5 separate regions of the Homo sapiens genome follow, and regions 1, 2, 3 and 4 are each linked to region 5. The links are contacts of gene promoters, found by promoter capture Hi-C in blood cells and fetal thymus (Javierre and others, 2016). All regions are on one chromosome and are shown on one strand. Each heading gives the region's core, a stretch centred on a gene start or on the middle of the fragment in contact. The rest is flanking DNA. Distances are from core to core; before and after follow the strand shown. Region 1 overlaps ATP11B (ATPase phospholipid transporting 11B (putative)). Region 2 overlaps MCCC1 (methylcrotonyl-CoA carboxylase subunit 1). Region 3 holds the start of EIF4G1 (eukaryotic translation initiation factor 4 gamma 1). Region 4 holds the start of LOC105374247 (a long non-coding RNA gene). Region 5 holds the start of KLHL24 (kelch like family member 24).

Region 1 (2,700 bases), core at 41-2,540, 840 kb after region 5:
TTCACTTTTAATGTTATACAGCAGCACTAATAGAAATAGAACATGAGCAACAGATGCAAGTCACGTAGGTAACTTTAAAATTTCTAACCACTTTAAAAAAAGTAAAAAGAAACAAAATTCCAAAAATTTATTTTACTTTACCTATATATGTAAAATATTATAATATCTCAACATGTAACTAACAAAAAAATGAGAGTTCTTTTTTCTTTTTTCTTTTTTCTTTTTTGAGACAGAGTCTCCCTCTGTCACCCAGGCTAGAGTCCAGTGGCATGATCTTGGCTTACTGCAACCTTTGCCTCCCACGTTCAAGTGATTCTGCTGCTTCAGCCTCCTGAGTAGCTGGGATTACAGGTGCCCATCACCACGCCAGGCAAATTTTCGGATTTTTAGTAGAGATGAGGTTTCACCATGTTGGCCAGGCTGGTCTCGAACTCCTGACCTCAGGTGATCTGCCTGTCTCGGCCTCCCAAAGTACTGGGATTACAGGAATGAGCCACCTTGCCCGGCCAGGTTTTACATTTTTTAATACTGTTTTTGAAATCCAATGTGTATTTTATACGTAAGAATAACTCTACTCAAACTAGCCACATTCCAAATACATCAGCCAGCACAGTTTTATAGATCTGTTTTTCAGAAAATTAAAAAGAATTTGCCAGTTACAGGTACAGGAAAAAGTAGCAGAGAGGCTTGAACATGTTCACAAGTTAAGAGAAAAAGTAAAGAGAAAGAAAAGAAACATACTAATGATAACTGATGGAGTATGGACAGCAGAATGAAAGAAAAGGATCAAAAGCTTAAGTGGAATTGTTATCTTGGAAAAGAGGGTTGCATCTTCCTTGTGACTGTGAAGGGAAGAATTAAGTACCAGTATAAAATATAAGCAAGTTCGGTGAGTGTGAGGAAGAACAGAAAGTTGAGGGAGTTCAGATTAAGACCTTCTCATTTTTCTCAGTTAATCAGAAGACAATCTTAGCAGCCTCCTACCACCATCGCCAATACAATCTAAAGGGATTACATTTATGGAACAGTTTAAGAAACAGTTATCCTAGTAATACTGTTTTTGTGTAATTACTCATTTTCTAACTTTTTTCTGGGCTAGTCAATCTTAAATTTGGTCATTTTTGTCTCTAAACACAGAAACAACACTACAGATTCATTCTTTCTTTCCTCATCTATTAATTATTTGTTCAGCAACATGTATCCAATGTCTACTTATGTAGAGTATGTGTGACCCTGACCAACATTTGTATCCCTGGTATTCAGCATCTGTTAATACCAGCACACAGCAAGTGCTTTAAAAATGTAGTATTACATTCAAATATGTACTGACACAGACTTTCATTTAAAAGTCTAAATTGGTGCTGTCCAATAGAATTTTCTGTGATAATGAAAATATGAACTGTCCAATATGGCAGCCAATGGCAGCCAATAGACACATGAATTCAAATTTTAATTTTAATACCCACATATGGCTCCAATTTTAATTTTAATGGCCACTTGTGGCTAATGGCTACCGTACAGGTCTAAATATTAGAATACAGTGAGTAGCTAATGGCATTTCCATAATTATAATCAAGGTATTGTCATCTCTAATGAGTTAATACATAAAATATGGTACTGAAAATGAGTATACTTTGAATAATACTAACTGTACCACAAAGACACCATAAGAGAATTTTCTTAGTGTCAAGTAACTTTAACATTGTGTGCCAAAAAGAAAAACAAAAAAGGATATTCCAATCTTTTTATTTTCAGCCTACTTTCCCAATAGAAAAGATCAAGCTTCTGTCAACTTTCTGATTTTTCCATCTTCTCAAGTAGTGAAAATATTTTGTCATAAGGAGTCACACTTTTTTTTAATTAAAAAGAAATTACTAGAACATAGGCATTGTTTCTGTAATAAAAGGACTTTTTTGTGAGACATTAGTTGAAAATCGGGATTCATATAACGAATTAAATATGCTTATAACTCCAACCTGTCCTTAGGATTTGCTTGTCAATTTCCCCAAATTTGTCCTAGTTATCTGCATTTTAAAATAAACCCATTGCTGAAAGTCGTGGTGATTCAATCCATTAAGCCACTGGAAGTATAATCTAAACTAGCTTTTACCTGAGTTGAATAATTTCTGGTGCAGTAATCAGAATAGCTGTCTATGACTGGGATAGCAAAATATACTTTCATTACTCTGTATCCAGGGTCCTTGATGTTTAATTTATGTGATCATACAAACTTAACCAGAGACACAAAGTCCTACATTGGCCCAAGTATGATTACATACTTAGAGGATCTGATAACTTAAAACCAGTGAGGTGAGCAACTAAATGTCAGAGATAGCATTTTTTATGCACAGGAACTTGTTCAACTCGTTAACCATCCCTGTTAAGACGGCTGCCTTGTAAAATAACCACACACAACTTCCGGCCCTTCCTTTTAGCTGGGTTCATTTGAAGCCATTTTAAAAAACATTACCAGGTTTTCTGTCTTGAAGATGAGCATGGTTATACAACCAGGATTTTATTCTGGCTAAAAAATACCTAACAGTGAGAAAGGATGTCTCAATACATTTTTAAAAAAGCTTCAAGAGAACCACTTTAAAATGATCTTCCTACCACACAAAAACACCATCAGGTAAATCAGCCCTCTATACAAGAAGATTTGGCAAATCAAAAGCATAAGATCAAATCTGTAATAATTAACTT
Region 2 (2,700 bases), core at 105-2,604, 550 kb after region 5:
TGCTCATTGTGTTCCAGCCACACAAGCCTTCTTCGGTCACTCAGCTGGACCAGTTTTCCTCCCACCTTTATGTAGGTTGTTTTCTGTGCCTGAGAGCCTCATCCTCAGCTCCATTCCTGTTCTCAGCTCCACATTCTTGATCTGTTTGCCAGGCAAAGTCTTGATCATCCTTTTTTTTTTTTTTTTTTTTGAGAAGGAGTCTCGCCCTGTTGCCCAGGCTGGAGTTCAGTGGCGCAATCTCGGCTCACTACAAGCTCCGCCTCCCTGTTCACGCCATTCTCCTGCCTCAGCCTCCCGAGTAGCTGGGACTACGGGTGCCGACCACCACGCCCAGCTAATTTTTTTTTGTATTTTTAGTAGAAATGGGGTTTCACTGTGTTAGCCAGGACGGTCTCAATCTCCTGACCTCATGATCCGCCCGCCTTGGCCTTGCTGGGATTACAGGCGTGAGCCACCATGCCCGGCCAGTCTTGATCATCCTTGAGGAGCCTCCCCTGACTTCCCTTCTAGGCATTTCCTGATCACCTTCAGACCAGATCAGGCCTTCCTCCTACAGCATTTATGCCCTTGGTTTTTCCTCCATGACGTTCATCACAGTTGTCATTAAGTGTGTGAATGTATTTTTAATGTCTGTCTCTCCCCCTAGACAGGGACATTTGTCTTGTTCACTATGGTACAGGCAGCTCCCACCTCAAAGTGTGGCACGTAGTAGGCCTTCAGTAAGTCTTGGAATGAATGAATGATGTGCTCTAAATGGTCTACTTCAAGGGATGCTATGATTTTGTGTAAGTTTTAAGGAATAATATAAAATAATTCACAAATGTATGAAAGCATTATCATACTCTGATAATTATATAAACTTTAATCAACTTTGTAAGCTTTTTTCTTTGTGTACATCTGTCACATATTTTGTTTCTATTATCAAATATAAATTTTTGGCCTTGAATACATTTAAGGTTATTATTGTTTTAGTAATAATATCATGACTAATGTCTGTTGCTTTTTATCCTGAGACACTTTAGTTTCACACCAGTGTGTGGCTTATGCATGAAAACCAAGTTTTGTTACCCTCTTCATGCAAAAGATTCTAAGACTGGCTTATTTTTATAGTGTAGACATACATTGGTACTTCAGTTTTTCAATTCTTGCACTGTTCTTGAGGGAGTGGCATTTTTATTTACAATAATAAAATGACCCTGAAGCAGTTCTGTATAGTGTATGAGTATGTACTAGCCACAAAGTCTTTTAAGCATGTGATGTTTCTTAAACAGGCAGATGAAGCATATTCCATCGGCCCCGCTCCCTCCCAGCAGAGCTACCTATCTATGGAGAAAATCATTCAAGTGGCCAAGACCTCTGCTGCACAGGTGAGGGTTGTGAAGAGATTTGCAGTGCAAAAGGAATACGTTTTGTGCAACTGATGCAAAGTTACTTATAGAAATTTTCTATTTTTAGCCTTTCCCAAGATCTTTACATTTGATTATTGGATTATCATTGTAAACTAGGCATGTCCCATCTCATTTCTCAGCCAGTCTGCCTTTTTACTGGATCCTGTGTACTTTAGATCCTTTGGGAAATAGGTGGAAAGAGGGTCTAAATTACAAGTTAAAATTAGGAGAGAATTCAGCTCTTCTATCCTCAAAACTACAAGCTCAAATCCTTTGGGAGAAATAGGTAGGTAGGGCTCTGAATTACAAGGTAAAATATAAGCAAGAAAGAAATATATTTCCACCCCAACTTCCCAGTCTCATTCTAGGGCCACGTAGGGAACTTAAGGAAGACGATTCAGGCAAATGGAATTGCCAAGACTCTGAGATGAAAACAAGCTTGGTGTTCAAGGGAGAAGAATGTTCAGTGTGGTTGGAGTGAAGGCAGTAAGGGGCTGTGTCATTCAGGTATAGTCAGTAAAACCAAAATTCCATTTGACGTTTCAGCAGAAGGAACTTAGTTTAGGAATTAGTTCCACCAGTGTTAGAGAGCTGAAGGCAGGGTGGGGATGTTGAAATTACCCTTTAATAATAACAGAAATTGAAAACCACCCTTTGGGCTGAAGGAGAGACTGGGGGAGGGACTTTCTGCAGCTGTTCTCAGATCTGTGGAGGGGCCCTGCCTGGCTGCCGAGGGCTTAATGAGGCTGGTTCTTGGAGTTCCAAAAGAACCTGAAGACTGGAACCAATGGCCGCTTCCCGGCGGTGAGGAGAAGGAAAGCTTCCTTGTTCAAGTTTCCCTACAGTGACCCCTACTGGTGAAACCTAACAGGAAGCCCACTGGCAAACAGGCAGAGCCCCTTCACAAGGCACCACGTAGAAGGCTGGATTTGCAGCTGGGAGAACCATCTTACAGGAAGAAAGTGGTAGGAGACGATGGAGCAGAGAGAGGTAGGGGTAGCATCATTTAGAACATTCTTTTTTTTTTTTTTTTTTTTTTTTAAAGACAGGGTCTTTGCTCTGTTGCCCAGGCTGCAGTGCAGTGGCACAATCATGGCTCGCTGCAGCTTCCAACACCCAGGCTCAAGTGATCCTCCCACTTCAGCCTCCCAGGTAGCTGGGACCACAGGCGCATGCCATCACACCTGGCTAATTTTTTATTTTTTGTAGGGATGGGCTTTCTCCATGTTGCCCAGGCTGGTGTTGAACTCCTAGGCTCAAGCGATCTGCCTGCCTCAGTTCCCAAAGTGAGAACATTATAGGTCTTGATAAG
Region 3 (2,700 bases), core at 93-2,592, 680 kb before region 5:
TGCCCTGACACAGATGGGGGTAGGAAGATCCAGAGGCTGGAGACTGCCTGGTCTCCCCCACCCCCACCCCTGCTAATTCCTCCCTAATTACCTGTGGGAGTCCGGGGGATGGGGCGGGTGGGGGGCCTGTGGACTGTGGAGCTTTGTTCATTTCATTTGGTGCCACATCAGGGTCCCCCCAGCACCTGTTGGGAAAGAGTGGCGCTCAGGAAGAGGAAGGGACCCAAGCTTAAGGCAAATGGGGCGGTGAAAGGGTTGATGCAAGGGCTGGGTCCCATACGGAGTCCCAGAGATGCCAAGAGGGTGAAGCAGAAAAGATACAGCCTGTCCCCACCAACATGCTGTCAAACCCGCATCACTTCCAACCAACCCCTGACCTACTGAAACAGACCCCTCACTCACCCCCTCGATTAAGAACAAGTCCACGGTGCGGCCTACAGGTTCTGGGCATCCGAGGGCCTGGGGTTGGGAGGTGAGGGTATCAACCTGGCTCCGCGGGGCCCCAGACCAACCAGACCGGAAATTCCAGGTCTCGCTGGCACCAGGCTCCCGGATCACGAACGGAGCTAGCTGCTTCGGCCGTGGCGTCCCCACCCCCCACCCGGGGACACCGGGTTCGGGCCTGGCCCAGGGGCACACAGGATACGCCTGCCGCCGGGGAACCCGCACTGGGCCAGAAGCTAGGCCTGCCGCCGCCCAGGAGTGTAGGCCAGGAAGGGCGGGAGTCAGGCCCTAAAAGGCCAGGCGGGCGGCGGCCGTCGAGGAGCCGGTTTCAGGCAAGTGAGGGTCGGCCCGGAGGGCGGGCGGGGCCGGGGGCTCCTCCCTGCCCGCCGCCACCGCCTCCCTCCCCTGCGCCCTCCCTGCGCAGCGCGGGCCAGTGCCAAAGAACAACGTGTCACTTCCCGGCGGCCTGGCCGCGAAGGGGGGAGGGGGCGGCGGGCCGGGAGCCGTGGTGCCTGCGCCCGTGGGCTGCCGGGCCTCCTCGGGTCAGGCCGAGGTGGCATTTCGCGGCGACGAACCCGGCGCCCTACCAGCCCGCGGGGCCCGCATAGTCCGGCCCTGCGCTCCCCACCCCCACCCAGCAGCCAGGCCCGGCCGGGCCAGGCACACGTGGGCCGGGGATCGGGACCCTGGCGGGCCGGGGCCCTGGGTCGGGCCGCGGGGCCAGGGCGCCGGGGCGGCGGCGCAGGGTGGCCGGTCCCGGCCCGGATGGCGGCGGATGCGGGGGGAGGGGGTGGGGGGGCCGGGTCGGGCCCGGACATGGCGGCTTTACCTTCAGTCTCCTTCAGTCCGCGCGGCCGAGCCCCACGCAGCCGCACAGACGTAGTCCACAACCATTTCCGGCTCCCCGCACAGATCCCGCTCGGCGGCCACCGCTTCTCCGCAGGCGCAGCCGGCGCCCCCACGTGACCGGCGCAGGGGGCGGAGCCGCGCCGGGCGATCTGCGCCGCCGAGCACATGGGATTTGCCCCCGCCCCGTCACGTGACAGCCACAGCCCGCCCCCGTGTCCCCTCCCGAACTTTGAAACTCCCAGACCGATTCCCCTCTGTGTTTCTCTCTGTTCCGCGATTCTTTAGTTCATTCATATTTTAAGCAACCATTTATTGAGTGCATGCTAAGTACAAGGCGAAGTGCTGGTTGAGGGCTGAGAAACTGAAATCAAAGTCTCGGCAAAAAAAAAAAAAAAATAAGCGGGGCGCGGTGGCTCACACCTTAATCCCAGTACTTTGGGAGGCCGAGGTGGGCGGATCACGAGGTCAAGAGATCGAGACCATCCTGGCCAACATGGTGAAACCCCGTCTTTACTAAAAATACAAAAATTAGCCGGGCGTGGTGGCGCACCCGTAGTCCCAGCTACTTGGGAGGCTGAGGCAGGAGAATTGTTTGAGCCCGGGAGGCAGAGGTTGCAGTGAGCGGAGATTGTGCCACTGCACTCTAGCCTAGCCTGGCGACAGGGCGAGACTCCATCTCAAAAAAAAAAAAGAAAGAAATTAAAGACTCCGTCCTGCCTAAGTAAATCGTGATACAATACGAATTATGCAGGCTTTGAAAATAATTTAGATTAGGTCATTGAAAGGCCAATAACAAAGGAAATTAAAAGGATAGAAACATTCTAATTAGGCAAGTAGTATGAGATTTGTAGTTTAAAAAGATCATGGGCCGGGCGCAGTGGCTCACGCCTGTAATCCCAGCACTTTGGGAGGCCGAGGCGGGCGGATCACGGGGTCAGGAGATCTAGACCATCCTGGCCAACATGGTGAAACCCCGTCTCTACTAAAATACAAAAAATTAGCTGGGCCTGGTGGCGCACGCCTGTAGTCCTAGCTACTCGGTAGGCAGAGGCAGAGAATTGCTTGAACCCGGGAGGCGGAGGTTGCAGTGAGCCGAAATTACGCCACTGCACTCTAGCCTGGCGACAGGGTGAGACTCCATCTCAAAAAAAAAAAAAAAGAAAGAAAAAAAGAAATTAAAGACTCAGTCCTGCCTAAGTAAATCGTGATACAACACGAATTATGCAGGCTTTGAAAAGAATTTAGATTAGGTCCTTGAAAGGCCTATAACAAAGGAAATTAAAAGGATAGAAACATTCTAACTAGGCAAGTAGTATGAGATTTGTCGTTTAAAAAGTTAGAAACATTCTAACTAGGCAAGTAGTATGAGATTTGTCGTTTAAAAGGATCATGGGCCGGGCGCGGTGG
Region 4 (2,771 bases), core at 223-2,722, 530 kb after region 5:
CACTTCCTCCCCCCAGTATTTTCTTCAGTCAGATTTAAACATTACTTCTTGTTAAAGTCATGTCTGTTTCTTGTAGAACTTTGCGAAGTGCAGAAAATTATTCAGAAGTAATGTTGAGAAGGAGTGGTGGAGAATGAAACACAATTCTACCTCTCGGAGACAAAACCATATGGAATGTCAAAAAAAAATATTTACAGTGAGGAAACCTGGCAGACACCAATTTAATCAAGTGATAAAGTTAACATCATGGAACAAACTCACATTTTGTAGCTCCAGATATGATGCACTGAAATGGGTATGACATCACTTCTGTGGTATTCCTGCCAAAAGGGAGGAATCTAATTACCTAAATCTAATAACCTAAATCTAATCATGAGGAAATACCAGATGAACAGGTTAAAGAAAAATAAAATTGGAGGCCACAGTTTGGATATTTCCCTAGGCCAACAACCCACAGCCATGTGTAGTCAAAACCTAAACTATCCTGATTTCCCTGAAAATGCTAGCCCTAACCATAACACACTTTTTCTTCCTTGTCAGCGTAATAACATTAAGCCAATACAAACAAGCTTATGCAGCTTTATTTGCACAACAGAGATCAACGTACTTCCTCATTTAGGAAGCTGCACAGAGGTCTCTAGTTTGGGAACTGTTATTTTGTATGCTCAATAATCTTTTTGAGAATTTAAATTTAATCTGATTTTATTTTTGGCAAACCCAAATTCAAGGATATTGTACAAAACAACTGGCCTGTATTCATAAAAAATATCAGCATCATCAGCATCTTTTTAAAAACGGAGGAATCAGGCTGGGTGCAGTGGCTCACACCTGTAATCCCAGCACTTTGGGAGACTGAGGCGGGCGGATCACTTGAGGTCAGGAGTTTGAGACCAGCCTGGCCAACATGGTGAAACCTCCGTTTCTACAAAAAAGAAAGAAAAGAAAACTAGCCAGGCGTGGTGGCATGCGCCTGTAATCCCAGCTACTTGGGAGGCTGAGGCATGAGAATCACTTGAATACAGGAGGCAGAGGTTGCAGTAAGCCAAGATTACACCACTGCACTCCAGCCTGGGTGACAGAGTGAGACTTCATTTCAACAACAACAACAACAACAACAACAAATAATAATAATAATAATAATAATAAAAACAAAACAGAGGAATCAATACAAATTAAGTGACCTAAGAGTCAATGCAATGTGTACTACAGTGTTTTCTTTTTCTTTTTCTTTTTCTTTTTTTTTTTTTGAGATGGAGTTTCGCTCTTGTTGCCCAGGCTGGAGTGCAAAGGCACGATCTCAGCTCACTGCAACCTCCACCTCCTGGGTTCAAGCGATTCTCCTGCCCCAGCCTCCCCAGTAGCTGGGACTACAGGTGCATGCCACCATGCCCAGCTAATTTTTTTTTTATTCTTAGTAGAGATGGGGTTTCACCATGTTGGCCAGGCTGGTCTCAAACTCCTGACCTCAAATGATCCGTCCGCCTCAGCCTCCCAAAGTGCTGGGATTACAGGCGTGAGCCACTGCGCCTGGCCACTACAGTGTTTTCTTTTGGAACAATTGTTGAAAGTCAAAGTAGGTCTGTAGAATAAATAATAGTATGTATCAGTGTTAACTTCACAATCTTCAAAAATATTCTGTGGGCAAGTGATAAAATCTCCTTGTTTTAGGAAATATGCAGTGACATAGTTAGAGGTAAAAAAAAAGGCATCATGTCTGCAGCCTGCTTTCAAATGGTTCCAAAAGAAAATGTGAGTGTATGCATGTGTGAGTGTGTGTGTGTACACATATATATCTATATCTGCATGAGGAGAGGGAGAGAGAGAAAGATAAAGCAAATGCGATAAAATAGAAACATTTGGGCTGGGCGTGGTGACTCATGCCTGTAATCCCAGCACTTTGGGAGGCTAAGGTGGGTGGATCACCTGAGGTCAGGAGTTTGAGATCAGCCTGGCCGACACGGTGAAACTCCGTCTCTACTAAAAATACAAAAATTAGCCTGGTATGGTGGAGCGCCTGCAATCCCAGCTACTCAGGAGGCTGAGGCAGTAGAATCGCTTGAACCTGGGAGGCTGAGGTTGCAGTGAGCTGAGATTGCACCCCTGCACTCCAGCCTGGGCGACAGAGCGAGACTCTGTTTCAAAAAAGAAAGAAAGAAAGAAAGAAAGAAAGAAAAGAACAAAGAAACATTTGGGAAATCTAGGTGAAGGGTACTATTCTTGCAGCTTTTCTGTAAGTTTGAAGTTATAGCAAAACAAAACATTTTAAAATTATGTGTTTTTCTATAGTATCAGCCTAAATAAGGAACAGAGAGAGGCTCTATAAAAGAAAAAGATATTTATTTTGGAATAAGCCATTGCAATGGGAGTAAGCTTTTTAAAGGAAAACATGAGGAGTATTATGTAATTGTTTTGAAATAATTATCCTTGGCTACAAAGATGAATAACATGGGTGATGCCAGTCCAGGGTTCCATAGGCAGTTGCTGGACACATGTTCTTGCAGAAGTATTTTTTGTGTAAGGTTGTGATGGCCTTTGTGCAAGGTTGTAGTTTTGGTAGTCTTTTTTTTTTTTTTTACGGACTCTCTGTTGCTCAGGCTGGAGTGTAATGGCGCGATCTGGGCTCACTGCAACCTCCCCCTCCCAGGTTCAAGTGATTCTCCTGCTTCAACCTCCTGAGTAGCTGGGATTATAGGCACCAGCCACCATGTCCGGCTAATATTTGTATTTTTTAGTAGAGACAGGGTTTCACCATGTTGGCCAGGCTGGTCTTG
Region 5 (2,700 bases), core at 188-2,687:
TATCTAAACACGTTTACAGAACTGGCAACAACGTGTTCGCAGGACTTCCTGCGAACCACCCGGCAGATAACGCGACACTAGTTAAAGGGTGTTAATTTTCCGGTCCTCGGAGGGCAGGCCACGGTAGCCGATCTCTGCGTGCCCAGAACTGCCTGCAGGATCAGGCAGCAGCAGCGGCGGCGGCGGCCACCGAGGCTACCAGCCGCCCGCAGCAGGGGCGGGAGCGCGCGCCTCCCGCACCCGCGCCACCCGGCTCCACTCGGGCCGCAGCTGCAAAAGCAGCGACAGCGCGCGCTCCCGCGCGTCCTCCAGATCACCTTCAAGGGGGCGGGAAGAATGGCCCAGGGCAGGCCCACCTAGTGACAATAAAAACTCGCCAATAAAAACTCGAACTCTCCCTCGGGTACCGCCCACAAGCTGCCGCAGGCGCCCAATCCCCGCCGCGTTAACAGTCTTCACCCGGGGTGTCCAGAACTTGAGGGCGGGTCCATTAGGAACTAAATTAAGAAACTGAGTCCTGGAGTGGTAAGAAGGTGGGGAGGTTAGGCGGGGACTGCGCCGGCGGAACGCCCGCTCCCCCGCCCGCCCCGGCTCCCCGGGGACGGCCGCAGCGGGCCGGGTGTCGCGATCGTGGTAAACAAAGGCTCGCAGGGGACGGGGGCGGGGGTAACGGTCAGGTGACAGTGCCGAGTGCATTTCGCAATCGCTTTAATGGGGCTTCACGGGCCCGCGGCCCTGGGGACCCCACCTTGACCCCGTCATTCCTCCCGGACAGAACCGACGGTCGTCCCACCAAACAAGAAGGCTGGATTTGAGGCGGTCGCACTCCCCCGGGCTTCCTGAAATAAAAAGCAGCGCCCCGTTCGCAGCCCATCGGCAACAAGCAGCACCCGTCTGCCCAGCCGCCTCCCCCGGCGGCGCCCGGCCCCGCGGCGACTAGCCTACCGCACCTGCGGCTACCCCCAGTCCCGGCAACCACCCCGCCCTAGCCAGGCCGCACCAGCCGCGCCGCGGTTCCGGGCCGTAGTGCCAGGAGGCGCGCGCGCCCTCCCTCAGGGCTGTAGCTACCAAGCGGGGGAGGAAGACCCCCCAGGTGAACCCTGGAGGCCCCTCGCCTCAGAAAGGGGCCCTGTAGCCCAGCTGCAGCCTCTCCGCAGACCGCCAGTCTGGCTCTGAGAGGCCGGCCGCCGCTGGCTGCCCTCCCGCAGACACCCCGGTGGTCAGGACCGCCGTCGCCCCTCCGCCCCCGAGGACTCAGACTCTGACCGGTTCCTCGCCTTTCGGCCGGTCCCGGAGCTGTCACCCCCGGTACCTCTCGGCGAACACTGGAAGCAGCCAGCAGTGGCTAACCCCGCGGTCCCTCAGCGGCGGGCGGCGCAGCGCACTCTCCAGCGCCGGCGTCTCCTCCAGCCACCAGTCTCTGCCGCAGCTCACAACAAAGGAAACATGTGACCGTCCGGGCCAAAACACTGAGCGTCAGCGAACCCTGGCCAATCCGGGTGGGCGTCCTCCGCCCCGGGGAACCCTGGGAGATGTAGTTCACGCTTCCCGGTGGCCTCCGGGGCCACCTGGGGCTCCCGCCGTGGGGTGGGTGTCGGGTGCCCAAGAGGACGAGACCCACCCAAAGGGCTGCTGACTCAAAAACACCTTGTTTTAAGCAGAGACAGTTAAAAAAATGCCTCTTGTGTAAGGAGCCGAGTGAGAAGCCAGAGTCGTTTCTTTCCTTCCCTCAAAGGCCCCTGCCACGTCCCAAGGAAAAAGCCCGCGATCAGCCCTTCGACTTTAAAGCTTGGGTCGAAGCTTAGAGAGCTTTTTATTTGACCCTTTGATAGACAATCGGAAATCAGGCCTGAGGGCCTGCAGGGTGGACGAGACTAAAACCCCAGTCCTTAGAAGGAGCAAGGAAAACCACCTCTTTTTTTTTGATAAAGCTGTTACTGTCCCTGGTATCAAATCCTAGGTTACCTTTTTATTTTAAACGCACATGCACGTCGACCAAAGCTGTCACAAATCCCTGTTTTCCAAGGTAGATGGAGTTCCTAAAGGACATTGTGTTGTCGTTTTGTGTCTGCAAGCTTTTTGTTTTGTTTCGTTTTGAGACAGAGTTTCGCTCTGCCACTCAGGGTGGAGTGCAGTGGCGCAATCTCGGCCCACTGCAACCTCTGCCTCCCGGGTTCAGGCGATTCTCCCGCCTTAGCCTCCCGAGTAGCTGAGACTACAGGTGCCCGCCACCACGCCCAGGTAATGTTTTGTATTTTTAGTAGAGGCTGTGTTAGCCAGGCTGGTCTCGAACTTCTGGCCTCAAGTGATCCGCCTGCCTTGGCCTCCCACAGTGCTAGGATTACAGGCATGAGCCACTGCGCCCCGCCTGCAGGTATTCTTTTAAAGGATGATTGCAACCATTTAACTAGTTTTTGGTTTCTGATACCAAATTTAAAAATCTCTATCTTCTACATGTCATGAATACCGTCATGCCTCTATTAAATTAGGCGTTGTGTTCTGATGACCAGAGGCGGAAATAATATGGAAGGCCTATATACAGGCCTTTTAAACATACTTTTTAGGCCTCTTTTCCATCTCTTATTCAATTATTTGAGCTATTTCTTCTGGTATTTATATATTTCCAAATAATGTATGACTATTTCCTATTAAGGAAGCTATCCTTCTCATAATCTGGTTAAATCATTAATGTTTACGCTA

The links. The method cuts DNA at HindIII sites, captures the fragments that hold promoters and counts their contacts. A CHiCAGO score of 5 or more calls a contact.
Region 1: a fragment that was not itself captured here is called in contact with the fragment with the promoter of KLHL24 in region 5 in 2 of 17 cell types (fetal thymus and total B cells); the score reaches 9.3 in fetal thymus.
Region 2: a fragment that was not itself captured here is called in contact with the fragment with the promoter of KLHL24 in region 5 in 1 of 17 cell types (naive CD8 T cells); the score reaches 5.1 in naive CD8 T cells.
Region 3: a contact is called between the fragment with the promoter of EIF4G1 here and the fragment with the promoter of KLHL24 in region 5, in 1 of 17 cell types (total CD8 T cells). The highest score is 5.0, in total CD8 T cells.
Region 4: a contact is called between a fragment that was not itself captured here and the fragment with the promoter of KLHL24 in region 5, in 3 of 17 cell types (fetal thymus, M2 macrophages and monocytes). The highest score is 5.8, in fetal thymus.

Annotation. Positions count from the first base shown.
Region 1 is chr3:182,795,234-182,797,933 of GRCh38, reverse strand. All of the region lies in intron 1 of ATP11B (ATPase phospholipid transporting 11B (putative)), which reads right to left. Among named protein-coding and RNA genes, the nearest start is that of ATP11B, 3.1 kb to the right of the region's middle. The HindIII fragment of the contact is 989 bases long and covers 796-1,784 here.
Region 2 is chr3:183,085,360-183,088,059 of GRCh38, reverse strand. It overlaps MCCC1 (methylcrotonyl-CoA carboxylase subunit 1), which reads left to right. Exons shown (of 19, transcript NM_020166.5): 4 at 1,272-1,367. Among named protein-coding and RNA genes, the nearest start is that of MCCC1, 13 kb to the left of the region's middle. The HindIII fragment of the contact is 948 bases long and covers 881-1,828 here.
Region 3 is chr3:184,313,248-184,315,947 of GRCh38, reverse strand. EIF4G1 (eukaryotic translation initiation factor 4 gamma 1) reads right to left here and starts at 1,342. Exons shown (of 33, transcript NM_198241.3): 1 at 1,274-1,342; 2 at 403-459; 3 at 92-185. The coding sequence starts at 151. RefSeq lists enhancers at 73-694, 1,419-1,919 and silencers at 532-1,241, 1,262-1,591. The HindIII fragment of the contact is 4,143 bases long and covers 231-2,700 here.
Region 4 is chr3:183,105,885-183,108,655 of GRCh38, reverse strand. It overlaps LOC105374247 (a long non-coding RNA gene), which reads right to left and starts at 431. Exons shown (of 3, transcript XR_924772.3): 1 at 262-431. It also overlaps a transcript of MCCC1 not described here. The HindIII fragment of the contact is 1,801 bases long and covers 572-2,372 here.
Region 5 is chr3:183,634,360-183,637,059 of GRCh38, reverse strand. KLHL24 (kelch like family member 24) reads right to left here and starts at 1,437. Exons shown (of 8, transcript NM_017644.3): 1 at 1,267-1,437. It overlaps LOC107986162 (a long non-coding RNA gene), which reads left to right and starts at 451. Exons shown (of 2, transcript XR_001741042.2): 1 at 451-525; 2 at 776-2,700. RefSeq lists silencers at 32-361, 412-731, 922-991, 1,002-1,111 and an enhancer at 1,532-1,591. The HindIII fragment of the contact is 5,143 bases long and covers 1-1,790 here.